Regions from separate parts of the Homo sapiens genome. Here regions 2 and 3 are each linked to region 1. Evidence: promoter capture Hi-C in 16 types of primary human blood cells and fetal thymus (Javierre and others, 2016). All regions are on one chromosome and are shown on one strand. Each heading gives the region's core, a stretch centred on a gene start or on the middle of the fragment in contact. The rest is flanking DNA. Distances are from core to core; before and after follow the strand shown.

The links. The method cuts DNA at HindIII sites, captures the fragments that hold promoters and counts their contacts. A CHiCAGO score of 5 or more calls a contact.
Region 2: a fragment that was not itself captured here is called in contact with the fragment with the promoter of MFAP5 in region 1 in 7 of 17 cell types (M2 macrophages, M0 macrophages, erythroblasts and 4 more); the score reaches 13.5 in M2 macrophages.
Region 3: a contact is called between a fragment that was not itself captured here and the fragment with the promoter of MFAP5 in region 1, in 4 of 17 cell types (naive CD8 T cells, M2 macrophages, erythroblasts and 1 more). The highest score is 11.9, in naive CD8 T cells.

What each region holds. Positions count from the first base shown.
Region 1 is chr12:8,661,265-8,664,995 of GRCh38, forward strand. It overlaps MFAP5 (microfibril associated protein 5), which reads right to left and starts at 1,562. Exons shown (of 10, transcript NM_003480.4): 1 at 1,363-1,562; 2 at 783-842. The coding sequence starts at 840. The HindIII fragment of the contact is 12,173 bases long and covers 1-3,731 here.
Region 2 is chr12:9,035,352-9,039,130 of GRCh38, forward strand. It overlaps a transcript of KLRG1 not described here and the pseudogene VDAC2P2. Among named protein-coding and RNA genes, the nearest start is that of LINC00612, 28 kb to the right of the region's middle. The HindIII fragment of the contact is 618 bases long and covers 1,187-1,804 here.
Region 3 is chr12:9,054,714-9,058,844 of GRCh38, forward strand. LINC00612 (long intergenic non-protein coding RNA 612) reads right to left here. Exons shown (of 3, transcript NR_034140.1): 2 at 2,907-4,131; 3 at 876-1,025. It also overlaps a transcript of KLRG1 not described here. Among named protein-coding and RNA genes, the nearest start is that of LINC00612, 8.3 kb to the right of the region's middle. The HindIII fragment of the contact is 2,225 bases long and covers 1,451-3,675 here.

The DNA of each region.
Region 1 (3,731 bases), core at 312-2,811:
GCTAGTGAACAAGACAGAAGAATTATTTTTCTCAATCTGTATCGGAAGAAGGAGGGAAAAAAATAGAGTAGGACATCTTTACAGCCTAAAGTTCACTTTCTGTGGCCAGTCTTCTAGCCAGATTCTGGGAAATCTGTGAAGATCACTTTTCTCTTGTGTGTCAGTATGGCATATATTTTTTGCATGCATGTGAGTATACCTGCATGCATGATGGTAATAGTGTATGTATTCCCACTGTTCTTCTTCAAGATTTACATTTGGTCCAGTTTCTTTTTTTCTTTTTTCCTTTTTTTTTTTAATGGAGATGAGGTTAACTCATCTCACTATGTTGCCCAGGTTGGTCTCAGTGATCCTCTCCACTCAGTCTCCCAAAGTGCTAGGAGTATAGGTGTGAGCCCACCATGCCCAGCCCAGGTCCAGTTTCTTTCTAGGTAGTCCCTCCTCTATGTTTGTGTATGCATTTGTATATCAGCTTCTTTTTTGCTTTGCAATTTGTTTACTCATATGTGACCCTCTTTGGGTGGTTAATATGCATTTGTGTGTATCTTAGTTGCACCTTAGTTTCATAATTCTTGGGAGGCCTTTCCCCTAGTCTGAAGTCTAGTCACATTCCTGAACTTTTTTTCTTAACACAAAATCTGTTCTTCTAATAGGAATTCCAGAGCTCAATACCAAGCATCTCTACTGCTATTCCTCTTCGACCTCATTCCATCCCATCTCCTGCCACACACGTGTATAGCTGAGGAGCTGAGGGTTTAGGGAGCAAAGAATAAAGGACTCACCAGAGGTGATGATGAATGCAGCAAGAAACAGCAGCACCTTGGGTCCCAAGAGCGACATATCTATAGGGGTGGTGGGCATAGCAGAGAATGTGATGCTCAGAGGCACATCAGCATTTCAGTGCCAGGGAAAGATGCCTCTGAGGTCCCTGTCTCTTTGTCTTCCCAGAACTTTCTTCATTTTCCCTTATGACTCAAACCCTTTCTCTCTTTTCTTACCTTTCACCCAACATTCATTTCTCCCTCAAATCTATTCCTTGGTCACTTACCATTATTCTTGCTTTTATTATTCTCTGCTACCAAGTCAGAGGAAATTTTACATTCTACATGGTCCGTACTTGGCCCTACCCTTTGGCCTCTTTCACCCCTGATGTGGAATCTTCCTTTCTCATATGCGTGACTTTTTCATATCATCTGCTCATCTTGGCGTCTCCTTCATCAGAATTCCACGGTTATTTGGGAGGTCTGCTCAAGACTAAGTTCAGTGACATTCCCCATTGCCCCCTCCAGCCCTTTCACACACACACAGACATACACACATTCCCTCTGTCTCTTTAGGGTTTCAGGTAATCAAATAACTCACTGTCTATGGTGTTCTGCTCTTTCCACCGAGTCCTTTGGCTGCTGAATGTGTCTCTCTCCTCTTACGCTGTTCCTACTTTGGCTGGCGAATAAGATGAACAGAGCCACTCCCTGGAAAGGACTTCAGATTTGGCCTCCGCTGAAACAATGAGATGAGGGAGAGCAAGAAAGCCAGGCTAGGCGTAGAATGTGTGTTACAATGAGGCTGGAATGAGAAGGGAGATGGGAATTTGCAGTTGCTCACACCCTCATTCCAAATGTTATGACTACACTGGTGAGAGCTCTTGCTGCTCCCTGGAAGTGTTGGCCCCAGCTCATGTATTGCCTTTCTTCCATTAGCCTATTTTCCCTCCTCTCACGATCTGGTCCCAGCTCCCCTTTGTTCCTTGGGTTCTTTCTTACCGAAAAGTTCCGTCTCCTCCTTGGTGTGTTTTAATGCACATTATAGATGCTGTTTCTCTCTCTCTGGCTATCTTCTTCTTCTTTGTTTTTTGTTTTTTTTTTTTAAGACAGAGTTTTGCTCCTGTCACCCAGGCTGGAGTGCAATGATGTGATCTTGGCTCACTGCAACCTCCGCCTCCTGAGTTCAAGCAATTATCCTGCCTCAGCCTCCTTATATTCCATATTTGAATCATTCCTTCATCCTTCTTTCTCACTTTCTTTTTCAATATTCGTCTCTTCAGCACTAACAAATTTCTTTTTATTCCTGTATTTCTTTTTCATCTCTGCCTCTTTCTTGACCTACACATTTAGACTCTTCTTGTTTTTTTTCCCCTTGGAATATCCTATGTATTCTCACAACCAAGCGAACACAGATACCTTATGAGTTTTGTCCAAGAGGAAGGCTGGCTACCTTAGGGTTATAAAAAGTTGAGGAACTTTTCAGAACTCTCCAAATCATTTTCAAATGTAGAGAAGCTCTGTGAAAGGGGTGCCAGCCTTACTTTGTCTTTTGGCTTTGTTTGAGCTTAACTAAGAATCTGGGTTTCTGGGCTCTTAAGGATAAAATGCAATCAGATGCCCAAAGAAAATTGAAAGGCAAGGTTATTATGCTTGCCTCATTTTCTACCAATATTTTTCCTTAGATCATATAATGTGTAGATAACACTTTCTCTGATCCAGGATTTTTTCTTTTTTTTAAGATAGGGTCTTGCTCTGTCACCCAGGCTGGAGTACAGTGGCATGATCACAGTTCACTGCAGGCTTGACCTGGGCTCAAGTGATCCTCCTGCCTCAGCCTCCTAAGTCGCTGGGACTACAGGTGCATGCCACTATGCCAGGCGAATTTAGATGTATTTTTTTGTAGAGACAGGATTTTGCTATGTTGCTCAGCCTTGATTCAGGAATTTTAAAGGCTTTGTATTTCTTCTTATTCACAGAGACTCTAGTGGTTCAACCACTAAAACATTCCCGCTTTGGATTCAAGAGCAAACTTGAATTACAGAAACTCAAGTCTGAGGAATGGTGGACCTTGTATGCCATAGAAATATGTAAGTTTCAGGTTTCCTGTTGGCTCCCCTTTAGTCTACATTATATATCTCCCTGATGAAATAAATTAGAGAAGAGTACAGGTAGACAGAGAGCAGATAGTATTAATAAATTACATACTAGAAGAAAATAAAAGGGGGTATGATGGAAGGAAGGAAAGAAGGAAAGAAGGAAGGAAGGAGTCTAGTTGAGAGGAAAAAAGAGCAGTGGACACAGAAATAAGCAAATCGCACTTTGTAAGCACCTCTGGGACCTCCGAGGGAGCTGTAAGTGCTACATCTCTAAGATACATGGAATCTGGTCAGTCCGCAGAACAAGCTGAGTGCTACGCCCAGCTCTTCCTGATCTTCCTGCCCCAGAACTTGCTCTTCTTCCATCTGCTCCCCAGTGAAGGGGCTGAGACTAGAAAACAGATGTGATTCTAGTCTGAGGAGAGTCAGGGGAAGAAAAGGGTGTTGGGAGAAGAAACAAAAAAGCAGATGCAAAGCAGGACATAGCTAAGGCAGGACATAGAATAGAGAGCCTAGAGCAACAATCAAGTTTTCCATGAAGCTCAGACAGATGGAGACACTGAACTCAGGCCAGTCATTTGGCAGGGAGAGCAATGACCTCAATGTGCTGGCCTGGCTAGAGGCTATAGTTTAGGAGAGCCTCCCCAGGCAGTGGGAGGGGGCGTTCTCCTGGGGTTGTAGGAGGTAGTCTGGAGTTGGGGCAGTGAAAATAGGAACAGAATGTTCAGAGCAGGGCTGAAGAAGAGAACAGGCAGGGAGTAGCATCCTAGAAGGAAAGGAGAGGTAGTGAGACAGGAACTGGCAGAAGAGCAGGACAACCATATATTGTTGGGTTTTAAAGACTTTTGAGAATGCAGTTTGTTTCAAGGTT
Region 2 (3,779 bases), core at 246-2,745, 370 kb after region 1:
AAACCAAACACCACATGTTCTCACTCATAAGTGGGAGTCGAACAATGAGAACACATGGACACAGGGAGGGGAACATCACACACCAGGGCCTGTCAGGGGGTAGGGAGCTAGGGGGAGGGATAGCATTAGGAGAAATACCTAATGCAGGTGACGGGTTGATGGGTGCAGCAAACAACCATGGCACATGTATACCTATGTAACAAAACTGCACGTTCTGCACGTGTACTCCAGAACTTAAAGTAAAAAAAAAAAAAAAAGACAGAACTACCATTCAACTCAGCAATCTCATCACTGAGTATATACCCAAAGGAATATAAATTGTTCTACCAAAAAGGCACATGCACGTGCATGTTCCTTGCAGCACTATTCACAATGGCAGAGACATGGAATCAACCTAGATGCCCATCAACAGTGGACTGGATAAAGAAAATGTGGTACATCTACACCATGAAATACTACACAGCCATAAAAAATAAAATCATATTCTTTGCAGCAACATGGATGGAGCTGGAGGCCATTATCCTAAGTGAACCAATGTAGGAACAGACAACCAAATACCACATGTTCTCACTTATAAGTAGGAGGTAAACATTTAGTATGCAGGGAGGCAGAGTGGAACAAAAGACACTGAGGGCTACTTGAGAGTGGAGATTGGGAGAGAGTGAGGATGGAAAAACTGTCTATTGGGTACTGTGCTCATACCTGGGTAACGAAATCATTTGTACACCCAACCCAGTGACATGCAATTTACCCATGTAACAAACCTGCACATGTACCCACTGAACCTAAAATAAAAGTTAACACAAAAAGGAAAAAGTTTATTAAGTAAAAAAATTAGAAGAAGCTAAGGTTAATTTATTATTGAAGAAAGAGATTTCACTTCACGGCAGCTGTGGCCTGACTGTGAGGCGGCTGACCAGCCTCAGCTGAGAGTGGAGTGGTGGCCGTGGCCCTCCTTAGGAGATCACCATATCACCTCTTACTGTGGCCTTACCATGGCGACCTATGGGCAGACCTGCATGTGGCCAGTGTGGATTTCTTCATCATATGTTAACCTTGGCAAAGCTGCCAGAGATATTTTTAACAAAGGATTTGGTTTGGGGTTGGTAAAACTGGATGTGAGAACAAAGTCACGCAGTGCTGTGGGATTTTCAACATCTGGTTCATTTAATGCAGACACTGGAAAAGCTTTTGAAGTCTTGGAGACCAAATATAAACGGTGTGAGTATGGTGTGACTTTCCCAGAAAAATGAGACACTGTTAATACTCTGGGAACAGAAATCACAATTGGACCACCTTTGTCAAGGTTTGAAACTAATATTTGATACTACCTTCTTAGCAATCACAGGAAACAAAAGTGGTAAAATCAAGTCCTCTTGCAAGAGGGACTGCATAAACCTTGCTTGTGATGTTAATTTTGATTTTGCTGGACCTGCAATCTATGCTTCAGCTGTCTTTGGTTACGAGGGCTGGCTTGCTGGGTACCAGATGACCACTGACAGTGCCAAGTCAAAGCTGACAAGGAATAACTGTAGTGGGCTACCGGATGGGGGACTTCGAGCTTCACACTAATAACAATAATGGGGCAGAATTTGGAGGCTCAGTTTATCAGAGGGTATGTGACAATCTTGATACTTCAGTAAACCTTGCTCGGACATCAAGTGCCAACTGCACTCATTTTGTCTTGCCACTAAATATCAGTTGCATTTCACTGCTTCTATGTTTGCAAAAGTCAACAACTCTAGTTTAATTGGAGTGGAAGGAAAGAGACTTCATTTACACTCAGACTCTGAGCCTGCTGTGAAGCTTGCACTTTCTGCTCTGCTAGATAAAAAGTGCATTAATGGAGGAGGCCAAAGACTTGGGTTTGTCCTGGAGTTGGAGACTTAATCCAGCTGAAAGAAATGGCAATGGATATCAGAAGATTTGGCTTTAATATACTTTCATTGTGATCAGCAGGCTCTTCCCACAAAGAAGGTGATCAAAACAAAGGCTCTAAACAAGAGCTATATTTTAAATATTTAAACAGCTACTCGTTAGCTGGTTTCTAGTTGAATTGGTTATGTATCTAGTTACCAATATGCTGCAACCGTGCAGTCACCTACACATTATTTAAGTATATTTAACTGTTAAATGCACTACCCACCAATCATGAAATAAACTTTATGAAAAAAATTTTTTAAAATGAATTTACTATAGCTTGAGTATACAGTGTGTATAAAGTCTACAGTAATGTACAATAATGTCCTAGGCTTTCACATTCACTCACCACTCACTGACTCACCCAGAGCAACTTCCAGTCCTGCAAACCCCATTCGTGGTAAGAGCCCTATCGAGGTGTACCATTTTTAATGTTTTATACTGTTTTTTGATGGTACCTTTTCTATGTTTAGATACATTTAGATACACAAATATGTGCCATTTTGTTATAATTGCCTACAGTAACATGCAGTCCAGGTTTGTAGCCTAGGAGCAATTGGCTACACCATATAGGCCAGGTGTGTGGTAGGCTCTTCCATCTAGGTTTGTGTAAATACAATCTATGACCTTTGCACAAAAACAAAGTTGCTTAGGGTTACGTTTATCAGAACATATCCCTGTAATTCAGTGATACCTGTGTTAAAAGATGTACTGCAGTGGCTCATGCTTGTAATCCCAGTGCTTTGGGAGGCCAAGACAGGAGGATTGCTTGAGGCCAGGAGTTTGAGACCAGCCTGGGCAGCACAGTGGGAACCCCCAATCCTTACAAAAAATAAAAAATTGGCTGGGTGTGGTGGTGCTTGCCTATAGTCCTACCTATTCAGGAGGCTGAGGCTGGAGACTCGCTTGAGCTCAGGAGTTCAAGATGGCAATAAGCTGTGATTGTGCCACAGCACTCCAGCCTGGGCAACTGAGCAAGACCCTGCAAGGAATTGGCTCATGGCTAGGCAATTCCAAAATCCATAAGGCAGGCTGCCAGGAAGGGCAGGCTGGGACTCTCTAGCAGAAGCCAAAGCTGCTGAAGCTGCTGTCTATAGGTAGAAATTCATGTTTATCAGGGAAGCCTTAATTCCACTCTTAAGACCTTTCAACTGATATTGAATCAATTTCACCTAGATTATCTAGGATACTTTCCCTTACTTAAAATCAACTGGTTACGGACTTTAACGAAATCTACAAAATACCTTCAATAAATATCTAGATTAGTGTTGGATTGAGTAACAGGGGACTATTGCCTAGCAAAGTTGACACATGAAAAAACCATCCCAGGTAACTTCCACACAAAATCATGGCCAGAGAACAATAGTACCAGAGCAAGACTTTTCCCTCTTCTTTGAATTCCCCATCTTTGAGGCTGGAGGGCTGCATCACTCCCCCACTGCTGGTTTGTGAGAGCTGTATGTAGAGGAAAACAAAAATTAGCCGGGCGTGGTGGCAGGCACGTGTAATCCCAGCTACTCGGGAGGCTGAGACAGGAAAATCGCTTGATTCTCCACCCAGGAGGTGGAGGCTGCAGTGAGCAGAGATCGTGGGCTGCACTCCAGCCTGGGCAACAAAGTGAGACTCTGTCTCAAAAAAAAAAAAAAAATTGAAACAAAAAATGAATTGGTTATAAGAATAACATTTTGATTTAGATTGGATTAAACTTTCTCAGTCAAATGAGACTGTTAGAGTAGCTTAAATTTATTAGAAGAGCTAAATGATTTGTCTGATAAGTTGTCCAAGGGTATGGAGGCTCTGGTTGGAGAATAAAGCTCTTTCCTGATTGCAATATATGAATTCTGTTCATTCAATAAGTT
Region 3 (4,131 bases), core at 1,313-3,812, 390 kb after region 1:
GTTCTATGTCATGTCATTTAAAGTTGCAGTTTCTAAGAACCTATCAATGGTGTTAAGAGAGGATCTACTATACAGGTTGAGCATCTCTAATCCAAAAATCTGACATCCAAAGTGTTCCAAAATCTGAAACTTTTCAAGTGCTGAAGTGATGCTAGGAGGAAATACTCACTGGAACATTCTGGGTTTCCAGTTTTTGGATTAGGGATACTCAACTGGTAAGCATACTTCAAATATTTCAAATCTAAAAAATTCAAAATTCAAAACACTTCTGGTCCCAAGTATTTTGGATAAGGGATACGCCACCTGTACTTATTTATACTTCTCCAATAACACGTGATTCTGTCACACACATAAAACTGATATCCAGATGTTTTTCAACCCAAAGTCATACAAATGGTCAGTGGCAGATTTTGGACCAGAAGTTAAGCATTTCTAATTCCATGAAATTGTCGTAATATTATGACTCCCACCTAAACATAACTTATTAATTAATTGATTGATTGATAAATTTTCACCTTTCTGCAATACGGAGCTTCTATCTAGACAGGCCAGTCATTTTACCTGGTGCTAAAATAAACCATTTCTTCTGCTTTTGCAAAAAATGTTTCCACTCAGATATACTCTACACTCTTGTCACTAATCTTCAGTTTAGAAGTTTTTTCTTGGAGTGAAACTTTCCCAGATTGCCATTACATTGCTTTGCATATTCTGAGGTTCTGCAGTAGTGAGGCTGTTGTGAATTGTTCCTAAATTTATGCTAGGTGCTCTTACCTCAATTTGGATGCCATTATTTGTTTATTGCAAATACAGGGTACAATGAAAAGCAGTAAGTGCGCATGGAGTAAATTTGCATTAAATGAAGAAGGAATCAATTATAGAGTCTCTAGAAATACATATTTATTTGCCAACCTCATTCAGTATCTGTATTGCAGGGACAAAATATCCTTTTAAAAAGTCGTGGGTCTGGGGATTCCAGCCAAGTCTTGTTTATAGACACAAGCCTCAAACATTTTCTTGCTCTGTGCCTGTGGAGAGAAGAGGAAAGCGAACAGGATGACTTCGGGCTTGCCAAGGAGTGAATTTAATTCTAATTGGATATGGACAGCAGCAGGGCTTTGCTAAAGGAGACCAAACTGGTTATGGCTGAGAATGGAATCCATCAGATATCTACCCTAATCACAGGGTAATTTCATTTACACTCTTCTGATAAGAAAATCAGGAAACCTTCCAGGAAGTTAGTGTTCCTCTCCAAAGCTGTATAGTTCTGCGTTACCTTGCAGTATGATAAATCTGATATCAACTAATAAAAGATGTAGATGATTTTGTATTTAGGAGGACTGCTTTTGAGAGCAAAATGAAGGCTTGGGATATGTAGAGCAAACTGCCTATCGGCTGCAGGGGACACTGTATTCAGCAAATTTGCTTCATCTGAAACACACAATGGGAGAAAAGCTTGAGAATGGGAGCTTCAACGGGACAGGGCTATGTGGAGAGGCTTTGACCTATTTAAGGACTGCAAACCATACTGAATCAGGGCCTGCGTGATCACAAAAATGTCAGCTCACTGGGGAAATATATAGACATGGTCAAGGAATTTCCACTCTTGATACCATTAGTATAATCCGTTACTCTGGTGGAAAATCAAAGCCTGCTCATGCTACAGTGTTCAAGCAAAGTACTAGGGGGGATCACGCGGGTATGTGTTCTTTCAGTTCTTGTTCCATATTTGCTTCTTTTTTCTTGCATGATATTTCTTATATGTTTTCCTCATCTGAAAGACTTAGCATAATTCTCTCCATAAATCAGTATAATACCCACGATTTATATTCCAGCTGAAATTTTACTTGGGGGGTGTGTGTGTGTGTGTGTGTGTGTATTTTAGGGATGGGGTCTCACTCTTTCACTCACTGCAGCCTCAAACTCCTGGGTTCCAATGATCGTCCTGCCTCAGCCTCCTGAGTAGCTGGGACTACTACAGGTGTGTACCAGCATGCTGGCTGATTTTATTTTTCAATTTTTTGTAGAGATGGGCTCTCACTTAGTTGCCCAGGCTGGTCTCAAACTTCTAGCTTTAAGAGATCATTCTGCCATGGCCTCCCAAACTGCTGGGATTATAGGCATAAGCCACTGTGCCCAGCCTCTTCATTTGCTGTTTAAAGACCACTCAACGCTATAGTTCTCACCCCTCTCTTAGTTCCTACTATAATTATTTGTATAGTTCTTAGGCTCTTCTTTATTTCTTTGCATTGCTATATTATCTTTTTAAGATTTATGTATGCCTTTATTTATAAGCACTTCTACGTAAAACTCTTGGTACTTTGGATTATTTTGCACGACTGATAGGCTTACATATCAATATACATGTATATTACAGGTAGTTTTGGCAGTAGTTTTGTAGGCCAAGGAAGAAAAAATAAGTTATGGAGACAGATTAAACTGAAAACAAGATGTACAAGGGTTTACCACACTTTTATTGCTTTAAGAATTGAGGTTTGGCCTCCACTTCCACCCTTGTTGCTACTATCTCAAGTGAAATAACTCAGAAACAGGAGGTCAAATACTTCACATTCTCACTTATAAGTGGGAGCTAAATAATTTGTACACATGGACATAGAGAGTGGGATAACAGATACTGGAGACTCAGAAGGGTGGGAGGGTGACAGGGCAAGAGGGATGGGAAATCACTTAATGGGTACAATGTACTCTAATTGGGTGATGGCTACACTCAAAGCCCAGACTTCACCACTGTGCAATGTAGCCATGTAACAAAACCATACTTGTACCCCCTAAATCTATATAAAGTAAAAAAGAAAAAAACCCCAAACACATTGGCTTTTATTTTATTTTTCCATCAAAGACACCACACTGGAAAGAACTGAGTTTATCTAGGATTCTGTTTTGCTCACCTGTCTTATAGTAATCATAGGCTTTCACAAAAGCAGGTTTCAGCTTTCTTATGGGGTTGTCTTGCAGAAGAGTGAAAGAAAAGGTCAGTGTTCAATCCGTAACCCAAGAAAGGAAGGAGTAATAATGCGGAACCAGGGAGGCCTCATCTCTTTTTCCTTAGCATCAGTCTTCATCCTTTGAAAGATAATTTTTTAGTGGGCTAATAGGATTCATTCTCTAATTCATTGTGCTCCCTAATGGCTCACATAGGGAGCAGTTGGAGGGTGATGTGGATTTTAGAGTAGGAACCTCAGGAACTTGAGCAGAGGCTCCCAAAAGTAGATTAGAAGTTTATTAGTCTTTTAAACGATTAAAATAATACATATTCCTCCATAATATCCAACACATGGCTCTGCCTATAGTGAGAGATAGATTCTTTATACTGGCAAGCTGACTCTATCTATATTAATATTAATATTTCCAAATATTCAGGAAACAGGCGTACATCAGGGGCTGTTCTTTTGCTGCAAATGAAGTTGATGGAATTACACTGTGATACGACTGACTGTGAGTAATAGATCTAGACTGATAGCATATCTGTTTATCATCTGTATCTAATCTGTCATCTACCTTATTTATCTATTATCTATCTAGCTATCTCTCTATGTATAATTTATCTAACTTCTCTCATACATGTATGCTAAGGTAAGGTTGATTTAATCACTGACAACCCTTGGAAACACTTCCTATCCTTGATTACCAACTTTCAACATGGCTTCTGGATGATGAAGCTTATTTATGGAAAAGAATGTTTATCTGAAGTATACAGAAATATTCATATGCTCATTTTAATATAAACAAACATATATGTTTTAATATAAACATATAAATATTCATATGCTCATTGTAATATAAACAAACATATATGTTTTAATATAAACATATAAATATTCATATGCTCATTTTAATATAAACAAATCCATACCTACTGGCCTCCCCCAACCCTCTTGTCTGTGACACTCCAAATCCCAGGAAGCTTGCGATGAGGAATGAGGATGTAAAATATCTCACGTGAACAGAGAGGATGTGCTTTTCCAAATGGCCTTCCTAATGACTGCTCTTCTCGTACCACGTGCTTGCCTGGTGATGAGATCCCCTAGAAGGACTGTTCACCTGGGTCTGTCTAGCAAGGCTGGCAGGGGCCCCACCTGGTCCACAGAAATCAAGATATGGTTGTTGTGCACT